2 separate regions of the Homo sapiens genome follow, and region 2 is linked to region 1. Evidence: promoter capture Hi-C in human tissues and cell types (Jung and others, 2019). All regions are on one chromosome and are shown on one strand. The core of a region is centred on a gene start or on the middle of the fragment in contact, and the rest is flanking DNA. Distances in the headings are between cores, read along the strand shown. Region 1 holds the start of POMK (protein O-mannose kinase). Region 2 holds the start of LOC124900271 (small nucleolar RNA SNORD112).

Region 1 (7,633 bases), core at 3,681-6,180:
ATTCATGCTGCAACATGGGTGAACCCTGGAAACATCATGCTCAGTGAAATAAGCCTGACAAAAAGGCCACATGCTGTAAGATTCCATTTACATGAAATGTCCAGAAACAGCAAATTCAGACACAGAACATAGATTTGTGGCTCCCAGAGGCTGGGGAGGCAGGGGGTGGAATAGCTGCTGACAGGGATGGGGTCTCTTTTTGGCTAAAATGTTCCTGAATTAGACAGTGATGATGATTGTACAACCTTGTAAATATGCTAAATATCACTGAATTGTACACTTTAAAATGTCAAATGTTATGGTTTGTGAATTATATCTTCCTTGAAGTCTCCCCCTAACATTTAAAAAGATAAAAGCATTCCCAGCTCTCAGGCTACGCAAAAACAAGCAGAAGCTGTGGTTGGCCAAGCCCTGCCTTAGGTGATGGCATTCCTCCAGGTCTGCCAAAGACCCAGGTAACCTCACCCACACCTGGGACACTAGCAGCCATCTGAACTCTGCTGCTTTCTAAGTCTGCACTGCAGCCCAGGTCTCTCCTATGCTTTGCTCACTGGCCTATCAAGGTATGGGATGTCCACTGCAGAACTCCCCAGTCCCCACAGGCCCCTCCTCCAGGGTTCCCTCTGTCATGGGCTCATGACCCAACCACCCACTCAAGTTACAGACCAGGTGTGTGTGACTTGATTCCTCCCTCCCCTAAACTCTAAACCAACCGATTACCACATGCAGTCAATGCTCCCACCAAAACCTCCCTCACAACTGCTTGCATATCTCCTTCCTTGCTGCCCTTCCCCTCCACCCCGCTGCGTGAGCCAGCAGCACCTCTCACCTGGGTTTCCACAATAGATTCCCAAGCAGACGCCCAGTTTTTCCTCTCTTGCAGTCCATTCTCAGGATTACACAGCAAACAGGATCCTTTTTCTTTAAGTGTTTCACACACAGAGAAAAAAAAAATCATAAGCATTCATCCAGCTTTGTCAAGTCACACTGCATCATTTTTTCAGATCTTTTTTTAAAGAAATTAAATATTACAAATAGAGTTGAAGACCCTCTGGACTCCTCCCCATCCAATTCTACTCCCCCTCAAGAAGTGATCACTATCTTCAAGTTGGTGGACATCAGAGATTCTCAAACTGTGCTCCCCAGACCTGTGGCGTCATAGCCCAGGAACCTGGGAGAAATGCAAATTCTTGGGTCCACACTCCAAACCTACTGAATCAGAAATGAACATCTGTGTTTTAATAAATCCTCTAGGTGATTTGGATGCATGCTAAAGTCTGAAAACCACTGGTGTATATAATTCCTATACATGCTGTCTATCTATCTAATCGATCTTATCTATTTACCTACCTACTTATCTATCTACTTAAGACATGGAGTCTCACTATGTTGCCCAGGCTAGACTCAAGTGATCCTCCTGCCTCCACCTCCCAAGCAGCTGGGACTGACTACAGGGATGGGTTACCAAACTCCGCTTCTCATACATGCTTATTTTCACAAGTATGTGCCCATAAATCATACATATGTTTTCAAGCTTTATACAAACAGTGATGGGCTGGTATTATCCTCCTGCAACCAGTTTTTTTTAAAAGCTCAACATTACATTTCTGAGATTTATCCATGCAGATGCACAAAACTCAGTTCACTATTTTCAACTGGTTTGACTTTTCCACAATTAGTGAGACAAGCTGTGTATACATCTCCCCAGGCATACATGGAAGTTTCTCTGATACATGCAGGGAGAGCTTTCTTTTTTTTCTTTTTTCTTTTTTTGAGAAGGAGTCTCACTCTGTCACCAGGCTGGAGTGCTATAGCACAATCTCAGCTCACTGCAACCTCTGACTCCCTTGTTAAAGGGATTCTCCTGCCTCAGCCTCCTGAGTAGCTGGGATTACAGAGCTGGGATTACAGGCACGTGCCACCATGCCCAGCTAATTTTAGTATTTTAATAGAGACGGAGTTTCACTATGTTGGCCAGATGGTCTCAATCTCCTGACCTCGTGATCCGCCCACCTTGGCTTCCCAAAGTGCTGGGATTACAGGCATGAGCCACCATGTCCGGCCCATGCAGGGAGAGCTTTCTAAAGCACGGATCTGATCCCACCTTGCTTAACATTCAACAGCCCCCCACTCGGCCCACAGGATCAAGTCCAAACTCTTATGTGGCCTCCTGAAATCTAGCCCCTATCTGCTTCCCTAAACCCTCCCTGCACCACACTCTCTGGCCCCTGAGCTTTCCTCAAAGGCTCCCTTTCTGGGATACCCAGGCCCCGGCTTCCTCTAGATTCTGAGCACCAAGAAGCCTGCCTGCCTGTCCTGTTCACCACTGCACCCCAGTGCCTGGCACACAGCGGGTACTCGGCAAAGACGCACCAACTGCCTGGTCACTCTGCACCTCTCCCTCTTCATGGCCTCAGCCGCACAGGCTGCTTTCCCTCTCCTGTGTTCGCTCCACGGAATCCGCTCTTCCTCTCCTCACGGCTCCTGTCTTCTGAGGACCCTCATCTGCCACCTCCTTCTCCAATCCAAGTTTCCCAGCTCAAACCCTGCGATAAATCCTTTCAACCCTCCAACCCTCCTTACCCCTAACCTCCCACCAATCCTTCCTTGCCACTAGTGGATTCAGGTTTTATGGGGCCTGAAGCTTATACAAGTTGGGGCAAGGAGTGGTAATTCCTTAAGAGAAGAATAGTTATGAATGTAAAAGTGCTGAGCCTCTTGCCAGAGTTTTGGCAAGAGGATTTGTGCAAGGTTTTGGAAGGTATTTGTGCAAGTGAAGAGGCTAGAGGCTTCATCATAAACCCAGATCTGCTTGTCATTCACCAGACCCATGTAACTTGCCCTGTCCACTTCTTCATTTCCACTCAAAGGCTGCCAACATCAGCTACAAAACTCTGTGGGACTCTAGAAATGCATATTTTCTAATCTCTCTTGGACCCTCAGCATTACTCAGAAAACCTTTAATGCATTTCTTGCTGAATCCAAATTTCATATGCCCCAAAAACCTTTTATATATCCCTAAGTCCTCACATTCACTTCTGAATCCTCTCTCGGCAAAAACAAACCAAACCAAACCAAAACAAAACAAATAAAAAAAATACCCCAAAATTCATTTGACTTTTATACACTGTCAACTTCACACCAATTCTGTGAAGTGGATGTAATTGTTGTTATTCCCATTTCACAGATAAGACAACTGAGTCAGAGGTGAAGTAATATATCTAAGGTCACTGAACTATACACAGAAGAGCCAAGTTTTCTGGCCTCAAGCCCATTCTTCCCCTAAATACCGCAATGCTCGGGAGTTGAACTAAATCAAACCCAGCGTGGTCAGCTAGGGGCTGGGCTGGGGTACCCTGGGACTGCCGGTTTCTTAAAGAAGACTTCAGCCCACCTCAACCCCGATTTGCTTTTTTGTTTCACAGGCATATTCTGGAGTAGGCCGCCCAGAGCATAGCATGAGGCTGTGTGGCTAAAGGAACTTTCGTGTCCAGAAGTAAGCAAAAACCACTGAAATTTACTGGTCCTGAAAACAGCCTGCACATTAAGGAATAAAGATGGTGGGGCAGGTTGGGCAGAAGAAATTCAGGCACGACTGAAATGCAAAGCATTTCTGACACTGATAGGAAGGCTTATTGATAGAGAAAGGCTTGGGACCCACTGCTCCACATTTACAGCTTAAAAAGAAAAGAAAAGCAAAGGGACAAAACTAGTTTTTACCGACTTACAAGATATTTTCTACAACTAGGGAAGACACAGAGTAATGTCATCCAATACAGTTTAGAGTAGAATTCCATTGCGCCAATAAAGCACAAGGTACATTAAGAGGATTATTTTAAATATTCTGAACGCTTATTTAGCCTTAAGGTTCTATAGCAAAGGCAAAGGGTGGCAAAGACAAGATTATGCAACAAAACAGCGAAATTTTGCTTTCTAAAAAAAAGAGAATATGATTACACTTAACACCTCCTGGCAACAATGATCTCGTGCAGAATAAACACCCAAAGGCAAAGAGCTGAGACAGAGTCCTCGGTCCTTTCTGGTTTTTTTGTTTTTTGTTTTGTTTTGGTTTGGTTTGGTTTTTGTTTTTTTAAACAGAGACAGCCTCTGCCGGACCCAGTAGCTCACGCCTGTAATCCCAGCACTTTGGGAGGCAGAGGCGGGCGGATCACCTGAGGTCAGGCGTTCGAGACCAGCCTGACCAACATGGGGAAACCCCGTTTCTACTAAAAATACAAAAATTAGCCGGGCGTGGTGGCGGACGCCTGTAATCCCAGGAGCCAAGACCGCGCCACTACACTCCAGCCTGGGCGACAGAGCGAGACTCCGTCTCAAATAATAATAATAATGATAAAGTAATAATAATAGAAACAGCCTCTCACTCTGGCCCCCAGGCTGAAGTGCAGTGGCGCGATTTCGGCTCACTGAAACCTCCGCCCCCGCCGGGTTCAAGCATTCTCCCGCCTCAGCCTCCGGAGTAGATAAGACTATAGGCGGCGCCACCGCGCCCGGCTAAGTGCTTTTTTACGGAGACAGAAGTTCCGCCATGTTGCCCAGGCTGCTCTCGCCTGAGCTCACGCGATCCTCCCGCCTCGGCCTCCCAAAGCGCTGGGATTACAGGCTGGAGCCACCTCGCCGGGCCCTTCTCTGGTTCTTTAACGTCCCGCTACCGCGCAGGGGTGGACGCGGAGATAGGGGCTGGGCGCGGTGGACACGGCCGCTCAGGCCCAGCGCAGCCTCCTAGGGAGCCTCCGGACAGGCCGCGGGCAGGCGGCCGGGGCTGCGGGGGGTGCGGCCCAGGCCACGTACAGGGTCCCCCGGGAAACCCAGCTGCACGCCCCCTCGCCCCTTCGCCCTCTCACCCCTCGCCGCAGCACCTACCTGCAGCCCAAGCCTCTGCGGCTCCTGCCACCCCGGGCCAGCACGCACTGGGCCTACTGCGCTTGCGCGTTCGGAAGCGCGTCCTGGGCGGGTGAGCGTGGCGCTGCTGCCCCCTGGCGTCCTCCTCCGGCCGTGCACTGAAGCCGGAGCGAACGCCGCGGCGGTACCAGCGCGCACCTACCCAGTCTCCCTGTCTGGCTTCTGCTTCCCTAACTTGGGAGAACGATTTTGTGTTGACCGACTATTGCTTCAGCCTGGAGCCAGGCTCATGCAGAGCAGCTGTCAGATCTAGACGCACTGCGAGGCCTTCCAAAGCGTAGTCCTCAGACCCGCGGCATCTGCAGGGACCTTGCTGGAAAGGCTGATTCCCAGCTCCGGCCCAGACCCGCCACTCGGGGACCCAGATGCCTGAAGTTGGACAATCGCTCTGTAAAAGAAACTGTGGGGCTTAGCCTAGACGCAGTAAAGCTGAGCTGCACACATCAAGCGCAGCAGACAAGACCTTGGCAAGCCTCCGCGGAGGGGCAGGACTGGGCAAAGGCGGGGAAGTCCGTCGAGGGCCGGCCAGGAGCCCTGCCGGGAGCCCAACACGCACTCGGGCGCTTGCTCCGGGAAACCGAAAGGGAGGCTTGCAGCATCGAAGTCAGCTGGGTCATGGAACGTCTAGGTTGTGTACATCGGAAGCGTTAGCTGCTTCTACACTGACACACTGCGAAAGTCCAGAATCAAGACAGTAACATGGTGTGGGTTAAAAAAACTGAGCCGGTACTAGCTATCCAAACAGTATTAAAATTAACAGAAACGTTTGCCTATCACATGGACAAACAGCGGTAATACCTCCTGTCGTTACAGTAGAGTCTGAAAGTTTCCTCACACATACAAGTGAGTGTAAATTGGAATTCCTCCTACGTGCCCTAGCAAATCCATTTCTAGGAATTTATCCTTCAGAAATAACGTCTGTGGCCGGGCGCCGTGGCTCATGCCTGTAATCCCAGGACTTTGGGAGGCCGAGGTGGGCGGATCACGAGGTCAGGAGACCGAGACCATCCTGGATAACACGGTGAAACCCCGTCTCTACTAAAAATACAAAAAATTAGCCGGGCATGGTGGCGGGCGTGAGAATGGCGTGAACCCGGGAGGCGGAGCTTGCAGTGAGCCGAGATCGCGCCACTGTACTCCAGCCTGGGTGACAGAGCGAGACTCCGTCTCAAAAAAAAAAAAAAAAAAAAAGAAAAAGAAATAATATGTCTGCAAGATGTATGCACAAGAGATCTTGCTGAAGCATTGCTGATAAAAGATATTTATAATAGAGAAAAAAAGAAACCTGAATGTATAACAATAGGGGTTTCTGAAAGAAATTATATTACATCCACATAGCCATGAAAAATACTAACGGGTGCACAGTTTCAGTGTGAGAAGATGGTAAAGTCCTGGAGATGGATGGGGGTGATGGTTGCACAACAGTGTGAATATACACCAATAAATTGGGTGGAGGCCGAGAGCTCGGGGCCGTGAGCAAGCCTCCAACGCTCCGGTCCCCCGGACCCGCCTTTTAAACTCTTATTCTAATTCCTTTGTCTTCGCTGGACTCGGGGTACCCGCCGGGTGGTGTGGGGCTGGTTTCCCCAACAACTTCACTCTAGCCTGGGCAAAAGAGCAAAGCTCCGTCTCAAACAAACAAAGATAGAAACCAACCAGCAGCTCTCCTTGCTGAGTTCTTTGCCACGTGGCCACCATTTTGTGCCCACAGGCTTTTTGGGGGTGCTGGGAAAAGGTGAAATTTTAACACTGATGAAAAATTAGAGGAATTAAATTCAAACAAAAAATTAAAAATAAAAAGAACAGCAGAATTTGACGCACCATCAAACTGGTTGTGTCACCCATCTTCAAGCTGAAGGTAGTCCAAAGCCTGGAACTGAGTGTCGGGGGCACACACAGAGACTCGGGAGAAACCCTCTGATTCTGGCTCGTGGAGCAGAAAAGGAAACTCCTAACCCTCAGAGGGAGTGAAGAAAATTCCCTGTTCTTTCTATTTTCTTCTTTTCTTTGCACTCCAGCCCCCAGTCAAGCCCAAGGCCAGAGCAAAAAGCTTCAGCAGCCAAAAGTCTGAGGGAAAGAGATAGTCCTTTCCATTCAGTAGCACTGCAGCTCCAAGAGGACAGACACAAACTTGGTGTTTTGTTGTTTTTAACTGTTTCCCACTGCTGTGGCACAATTGTGGAAGTGGGCAGCTCCCCCAAGCCAAACTGAAAGTGGGAAGTTTCAGACCAGCGCACTGAAACCTGAGGGAACCTAAAAACACTGAGAAGATAGCGGAAGGTGAGAGCATCTGGCAAGCAACCTCACAGAGTTGTTTTTGAACTCTTGGGCTCATCGCTGACCTGCGTATCATCGACTTAACGAGCACACCAAACACTCAGAGAACTGTGCTCATGAACAGATTTTTGTTCAGGTACCAAACTACGGGAGGATGCAGCCACGAGACAGATCCAAATAGCCCCACAGAGGGTATGAACACAGAACTCACTTTGGAACATGAACCCCAGAAGAAGATCGGAACCTGCAGGCTGTCCCTAACTAGTTCATGTGCTTGCTTAAATTAAACTGTTGGCCAGGCGCGGTAGCTCACACCTGTAATCCCAGCACTTAGGGAGGGCAGATCACCTGAGGTTAGGAGTTTGAGACCAGCCTGGTAAACATGGTGGAACCCGGTCTCTACTTAAAAAAAAAAAAAAAAAAAAAATAGCCGGGC
Region 2 (6,665 bases), core at 636-3,135, 1.1 Mb after region 1:
CAGGTATTTCTATTGACCTGGCCAACTGTAAGGTGAAGATGAAATTCAAAGACTGCGTGGAGTAACCCGAGCAAGTTCCTCTTTACTTTTTCTGGTATCAATTCTAACTTTTTGTTTTTTTTTGGTGATATTAACCTTTGGAAGGAACTGTATGTTAGATTTTCGGCAGCTGAGTGGTTTTGATCCTTTTGGGAGATCAACTGTGTTGGAATACGTTTAAGAGGAGTTTTTGTGAAGACATTGGAACTTTAGTGTGTTCTTTTCACATTGATAAGTACTGAGGAGAATCCATGGGATACTGTGATTAAAAGTTTTTAGGCCAGGCCTGGTGGCTCAGGCCTGTAATCCCAGCACTTTGGGATGCCGAGGGGGGGGTGGATCACCTGAGGTCAGGAGTTCAGGACCAGCCTGGCCAATATGGTGAAACCCCATCTCTACAGAATACAAAAATCAGCCCGGCATGATGGTGGGTGCCTGTAATCCCAGCTACTCGGTAGGCTGAGGCAGGATAATCGCTTGAACCCAGGAGGCGGAGGTTGTAGCGAGCCTAGATTGTGCCACTGCACTCCAGCCTGGGCAACAGAGCAAGACTCCATCTCAAAAAAAAAAAAAAAAAAAAGTTTTTACCCATGTTATAAGGGAAATTTTTGAGCTAACTTTAGAGTGTGGTAGTTAATGGTGAGTTTATTTATTAAAGTGTTTATTTACTATGTGCCAGGCGTTATTTTAATGCTGTATATATATTAACTCATTTAATCCTCTAACATAACTAGCTACTGTTAGGTTAGTTAGTTATTAATAACATAACAGTACCAGCAGTGAAATAGCTACTGTTATTTTACAGGTGAAGAAACTGAGGCATAAAAGAGATTTCAGTAACTTGCTGAAGTCACACAAATATTAGGTGGCAGAGCTGGGATTTGAATTTGGGCAGTCTGGCTCCAGAGTCTTTGTAATAGCCATACTGACCACCTCTTAGGAGCAGTAATGTATGATGGCTATCACTGCACTCAAGTACAGAATCGTGAATGTCCTTGGTGTTAACTTCATAGCACATTTCCTAATTGTTAAAGGACAAATTCCCGCCCGTCTTCATTGTGTCCATTTTTCTTTTTTTGCAGAACAGATTTGAAAATTCACTTTGGACCAGTGATAAGAATGTGTTAGGAACCAAAGATTAGGAGTAATCTAGTTTTGTATATCTGAGGTCCATTAAAAAAAAGTTTCACCTACATGCCATTTTTTTCCCTTAAAGATAATTTCTGTGCTAACTAATTTTCATTTCAGTTGTCACTAACATTTTCTGATAGGCAAGGTAGGGATCAGTTGTATTGCTATACCAGAGTGCTTTAATTTGGGACAGAAATACTGTTTTCCTTGAATCATGGGATTATAGGTGAGGAGAAGAGTGTGTAACTGGCTTAAATAGCATCTTCCTCTTTGTAAATTTCTTTTTGAAATATAGATATTACTGTAAGGTAATTTGTTCCATTTACTTCAGTTATTCATTATTTATTTAGCAAACATTTGAATGCCTGCCATGAACAGTGGATTTAAGATTTAGGTCCTGTGAGGGGATTAAAGCAGACAGAATAGAGATACAAAATAAATTTTTTGAAAGCCTTTTTTAGTTTATGAACTGTAATTTTTTTACATTATTATTTTTTCATAACAATTAAGTATCATGACTCAGAAATAATAATATGTTTAGTGGGCAAGGCAATTATTTGAGACTGTGATGGTCCATTTAAAAAATTATCTTTATATAGTGAGTCTTGGAAAGATTCAATTTCCTTTCAAGAATAGTTTTCACCTTGATTTCAAACTTCTGAGTTCATTTTTACACACTGACATAATTTACTTGAATATATATAGTTTGTGTTCTGTATTACTAGCCCAGAAAAATATTCTCTTTCATGGTAATCAGCCAGATCATTAAAAGTATTGTTATTTGGTGGCATAGTATTTTGGAACAGAATTATAATTTGCTAAAGCGTTCAGTTGGACAGGGAAGAGTAGGTATTGTCAACTAATGTTATTGTTCAGGTTACTCCCAGCTGGGTAACCTGGAGCAGAAAGATCCAATGATAAATCTCTTGCCTTCTACTCTAAGTTACATCTCAATTTGGTCAACTCTTAGTAGAGTCCAAATTATTTTGTTTTATTGGAATTTATATTTTAAATTATAGAGGAAGTAGAGCTTTGACAGGAATTTAGAATTTAAATTTTCGATGTAGAGATACTGATTAAAATGGGGATTTTTTTTTTTTTTTTGAGAGATGGAGTCTTGCTTTGTTGCCCAGGCTGGAGTGCAGTGGTGCAACCTCCACCTCCTGGGTTCAAGCGATTCTCCTGCCTCAGCCTCCCGAGTAAGCTGGGATTATAGGCGCATGCCACCATGCCCGGCTAATTTTTATATTTTTAGTAGAGATGGGGTTTCACCAGGTTGGCCAGGCTGGTCTCGAACTCCTGACCTCATGATCCGCCTGCCTCGGCCTCCCAGAGTGCTGGGATTATAGGCGTGAGCCACCGTGCCCGGCCAGGGATATGTTTTTAAGTTACTGAAAGTTAAGAGTGATGAAGTTTTGATTTAGCTATTTGGAAATGACCTTTATAGTAGAATAGTTGCACATTTTATATGTTAGAATGGTGGTATTTTATAAGAAAATTGTTAACCAATATAAGCTTGGAAATTTCAATTTCAATTACTCTGTTGCGTTGATACTGTATAAAAAGGCAATAAATAGTTGTCCATGCTATTAAATTCAGGGCTATGTGGACTGCTTGACAGAATGATTGTTCACTTTGGAAAAACAAAAAAAACAAAAAATCTTCTGAAGGCAAAAGATAAAATATTGAGGATACAGTGACGTGGAAAATGTAGCTATTATCAAGTGTGAAATGGATTGATCTCAGTAATTGTTATATTTAATAATTTAAACATTTTTTATGACATGCATTTCTTTTCTTTTTTTTTTTTGAGATGGAGTCTTGCTCTGTTGCTTAGGCTGGAGTGCGGTGGCCCAGTTTCAGCTCACTGCAACCTCCGCCTTCCAGGTTGAAGCAATTCTACTGCCTCTCCCCTCCTGCTGTCTGCGATTACAGGCGTGTGCCACCATACCTACCTAATTTTTGTATTTTTAATAGAAATGGGGTTTCACCATGTTGGCCAGTTGTGTTCTCGAACTCCTGACCTCAGGTGATCCGCCCACCTCCGCCTCCCAAAGTGCTAGGATTACAGGCGTCAGCCACCATGCCCGGCCCATGCCGTACATTTCTGACATCATTGTTTATACCATTTGTTTGTGACTCCAAATGTACCAGGAGCAGTGGCCTAGAAATAAAAATTTGTTACTAACAAGTCATTGAGGTGGATTAATTGTAAATCTGGTTAGGAATTAATTTTGTCTTAGCAGATTTATTCTTCAAAAATTCAGAAATTTAAAAATAACTCAGAGATATGTTTGTAAAATAGTATCTGTTTAAGTACAATCAGCTGCACAGTTTTTTTTTTTTTTTTTTTTTGAGACGGAATCTCACTCTTGCCCAGACTGGAGTGCAGTGGCGCAACCTTGGCTCACTGCAACCTCTGCCTCCCAGGTTCAAGTGATTCTCCTGCCTCAGTCTCCCAAATAGCTGGGATTACAGGCATGCGCCACCATGCCTGGCTAATTTTTGTATTTTTAGTAAAGATGGGGCTTCACTGTGTTGGCCAGACGAATCTCAAACTCCTGATTGGCTTCCCAAAGTGCTGGGATTATAGGTGTGAGCCACTGTACCTGGCCAACTGTGCAGATTTTTTTGATCTTCTGGTTCACCTATGAGCACAATGATTTTTGGTAATTTTCAGTGCATGACATACCTCGAAATAAAGCTACTGAGCTACTAAAGCTTGGGTTAGCCATTACTAATCCAAAGTTCTATACCAAACCAATTTTTCTTTTCTTTCTTTCTTTCTTTTTTTTTTTTTTTTTTTTTTTTTGAGACAGAGTCTTGCTCTTGTCACTTAGGCTGGAGTGCAATGGTGCGATCTCGGCTCACTGCAGCCTCCGCCTCCTGGGTTCAGGCGATTCTCCTGCCTCAGCCTCCCGAGTAGCTGGGTTTACATGCACCCGCCACCACGCCTGGCTAATTTTTTGTATTTTTAGTAGAGACAGGGTTTTGCCACGTTGGCCAGGCTGGTCTCGAACTCCTGACCTCAGGTGATCCACCCGCCTTGGCCTCCCAAAGTGCTGGGATTACAGGTGTGAGCCACCATGCCCAGCCACCAATTTTTCTTATGCTTACAACCTAGACATTTTTCTAGCGAATAAGTACTTTACTCTTTCTTGGTCTACCTTCCAATTGGTGAAATAAAGGGAAGGAATTAATGAAGACATCGGGTACCACAAATGGCTTCAGGAATAGAAATCCAGAGGTTCTAATGGTCTTAACCTCGTTTTTTCTTTGCTCTGTATCAATAGGCTAAGGGAACGTAAAGAGTTGCTTATAGAAACCTATTAATAGCTAACATTTGTTAAGGGCTGATGATGTGTTAGGGACTTTTTTTTTTAAGTGTTTTAACATGTACTTTCTTATTGAAGTCTCAAAAGAATTCTATATGATTAAATTTTATAGGCATAATATATTTATATAATAGGTATTTAATAGTATTTAATCATACAAATTTTCGGCAGGGCGCGGTGGCTCACGCCTATAATCCCAGCACTTTGGGAAGCCGAGGCAGGCGGATCTCGAGGTCAGGAGATCGAGACCATCCTGGCTAACGTGGTGAAAGCCCGTCTCCACTAAAAAATACAAAAGAAAAAAAAAAAATATTAGCCAGGCATTGTGGTGGGCGCCTGTAGTCCCAGCTACTTGGGAGGCTAAGGCAGGAGAATGGCGTGAACCCGGGAGGTGGAGCTTGCAGTGAGCCGAGATTGCGCTACTGCACTCCAGCCTGGGTGACAGAGTGAGACTCCGTCTCAAAAAAAAACAAAAATTAATAATAATAATACAAGTTTTCATTATGTCTTATAGAAAACCAAATGGAAAATGAATATAAGGAAATGCAAAATACATTAAATTTCTTTTTACCCTTGCTGCCTGTTTTTTCTTTAGTTCATCCTGGACTTGTGGGCCAATACTTTTTTGTTATGTTTAATACTAGGAGAGCAAATACATAACAGGAACTGTGATGAATCTGGAAAGAAAATTTATATCATTCAGTCTTCCTGAAGCTGTAAGAATCTCCTTAACATCTATTAGATTTATTTTCTCTTTGCATTTAAAGTTTTGGAGAAAATATCTTTGTCATACTGACTTGGTTCTTAGCTATGTAAGAGGACTAAATCTAGGTGCGGAGTTTGCTGGTTTAAATAGAATTAAAAATTTATTTTTTTCTGGTGACCTGGAGAGTGTTTCTTAAAATTATAATAATGAATACTTTTCATGCTCTGATTTATGTATAGGAATTATTAAGAGCTTCACTCTGATAAAGTTATTTACCACTTGGCTACTCAGGGGTGGAGTCATTTCACAAAGGATCTGCAGCGAATGAATTAGACCAGGAGTAACTTCACCCTTCTGCTTGTCCCAGCTGGAGCAGGATTAGGACTCATTCAGCTGCAGCTGGTTCCCAGGAAAATGAAAGCAGTTCCTTCTGGTTTTTTCCTTTCATATGAAAGTCATAGTTCCCAGCAGATGGCTTTCATCAGCCCTGTACATGTATCTGTAAATTCAAGGCCAAGGAATTATTTTCAACTTCATTAGGGAACAGGTGAAGAAACCATTTGTAGTGTGGCACTATTTTATTAGGAGTTGAAATTAAGCATAGAGATTATAGTAGTATGCCATTCTGGGTCAAAATAGTTTTTAACTGTCAGCAATTTAAAGAAAAAAAAAGACTGCTAAGGAAAAGTAAGTCTGGCTGTAGTGTTGATTGAGGTATCTTTTATGGTTGAATTGTATTATGCTTACGAAACATAGATTATTAGAAAAAAAGACTTGTATCTTCTGCATTGTGTAGAATGTTCAGCCAGTAGCAATCTTGGATCACAGTGATTCTAATCTGATTTCACAAATAATAGGGAAATTTGAGAGCCAAAGAGGTTGAAGTGTCTTGTCCAGTGCCACACAGCCAGTTAATACCATCTGGAAGAATTGGTCAGGCCCTTCTCAATTTTGTGCTTTTTTCATTATGCTGTAGTACTGCTTTATAGTATTAGAGAGCAGTGAGCCTAAAATAATTTAGTTAGAATTCTCTTCCTTAATGGAAACCATAGAATAAACCTTGTCTAGAGAATATTGGTGGTATCGTAAACCACAAATATATAAATCTGCTATTTCAGTGTGTGAAAATAGCTATACACTCTTGTTAGAGTTTTGAAACAACTTTTTGGGAAAAGACTGCTTTCTTATGGCCCAAGTTAGAGGAATCAAGGTTTTCTTATGTTGTTGGCTAAATATTAGAAGGGGAACATGTTGAGCTACCTTAATGCTGGAAGAAAAAGTACTCCTTGAGTTTTGGGAAAAAAAGTCCATTTAAAGGTAAGTCTAATTTTCAGTAGGTCTGCAACACAAATGACCTCTGAGTGACTTGGATCATTGGTTAGAATTTAAAATTCTTGAGACTGAGCTAGAGATAGCAAGGTACAAACCTTTCTATTAATTAATGAAGTAATTTT

Evidence for each region. The method cuts DNA at HindIII sites, captures the fragments that hold promoters and counts their contacts. A contact is called where the count stands out against the background at its distance.
Region 2: a contact is called between a fragment that was not itself captured here and the fragment with the promoter of POMK in region 1, in 1 of the 25 tissues and cell types used here (hippocampus).

What each region holds. Positions count from the first base shown.
Region 1 is chr8:43,090,812-43,098,444 of GRCh38, reverse strand. POMK (protein O-mannose kinase) reads right to left here and starts at 4,930. Exons shown (of 5, transcript NM_032237.5): 1 at 4,882-4,930; 2 at 830-921. RefSeq lists a silencer at 4,693-4,902 and enhancers at 4,154-5,059, 5,060-5,966, 7,301-7,490. The HindIII fragment of the contact is 5,704 bases long and covers 2,090-7,633 here.
Region 2 is chr8:42,038,053-42,044,717 of GRCh38, reverse strand. All of the region lies in intron 2 of KAT6A (lysine acetyltransferase 6A), which reads left to right. LOC124900271 (small nucleolar RNA SNORD112) reads left to right here and starts at 1,143; the gene lies at 1,143-1,214. The HindIII fragment of the contact is 7,148 bases long and covers 1-5,459 here.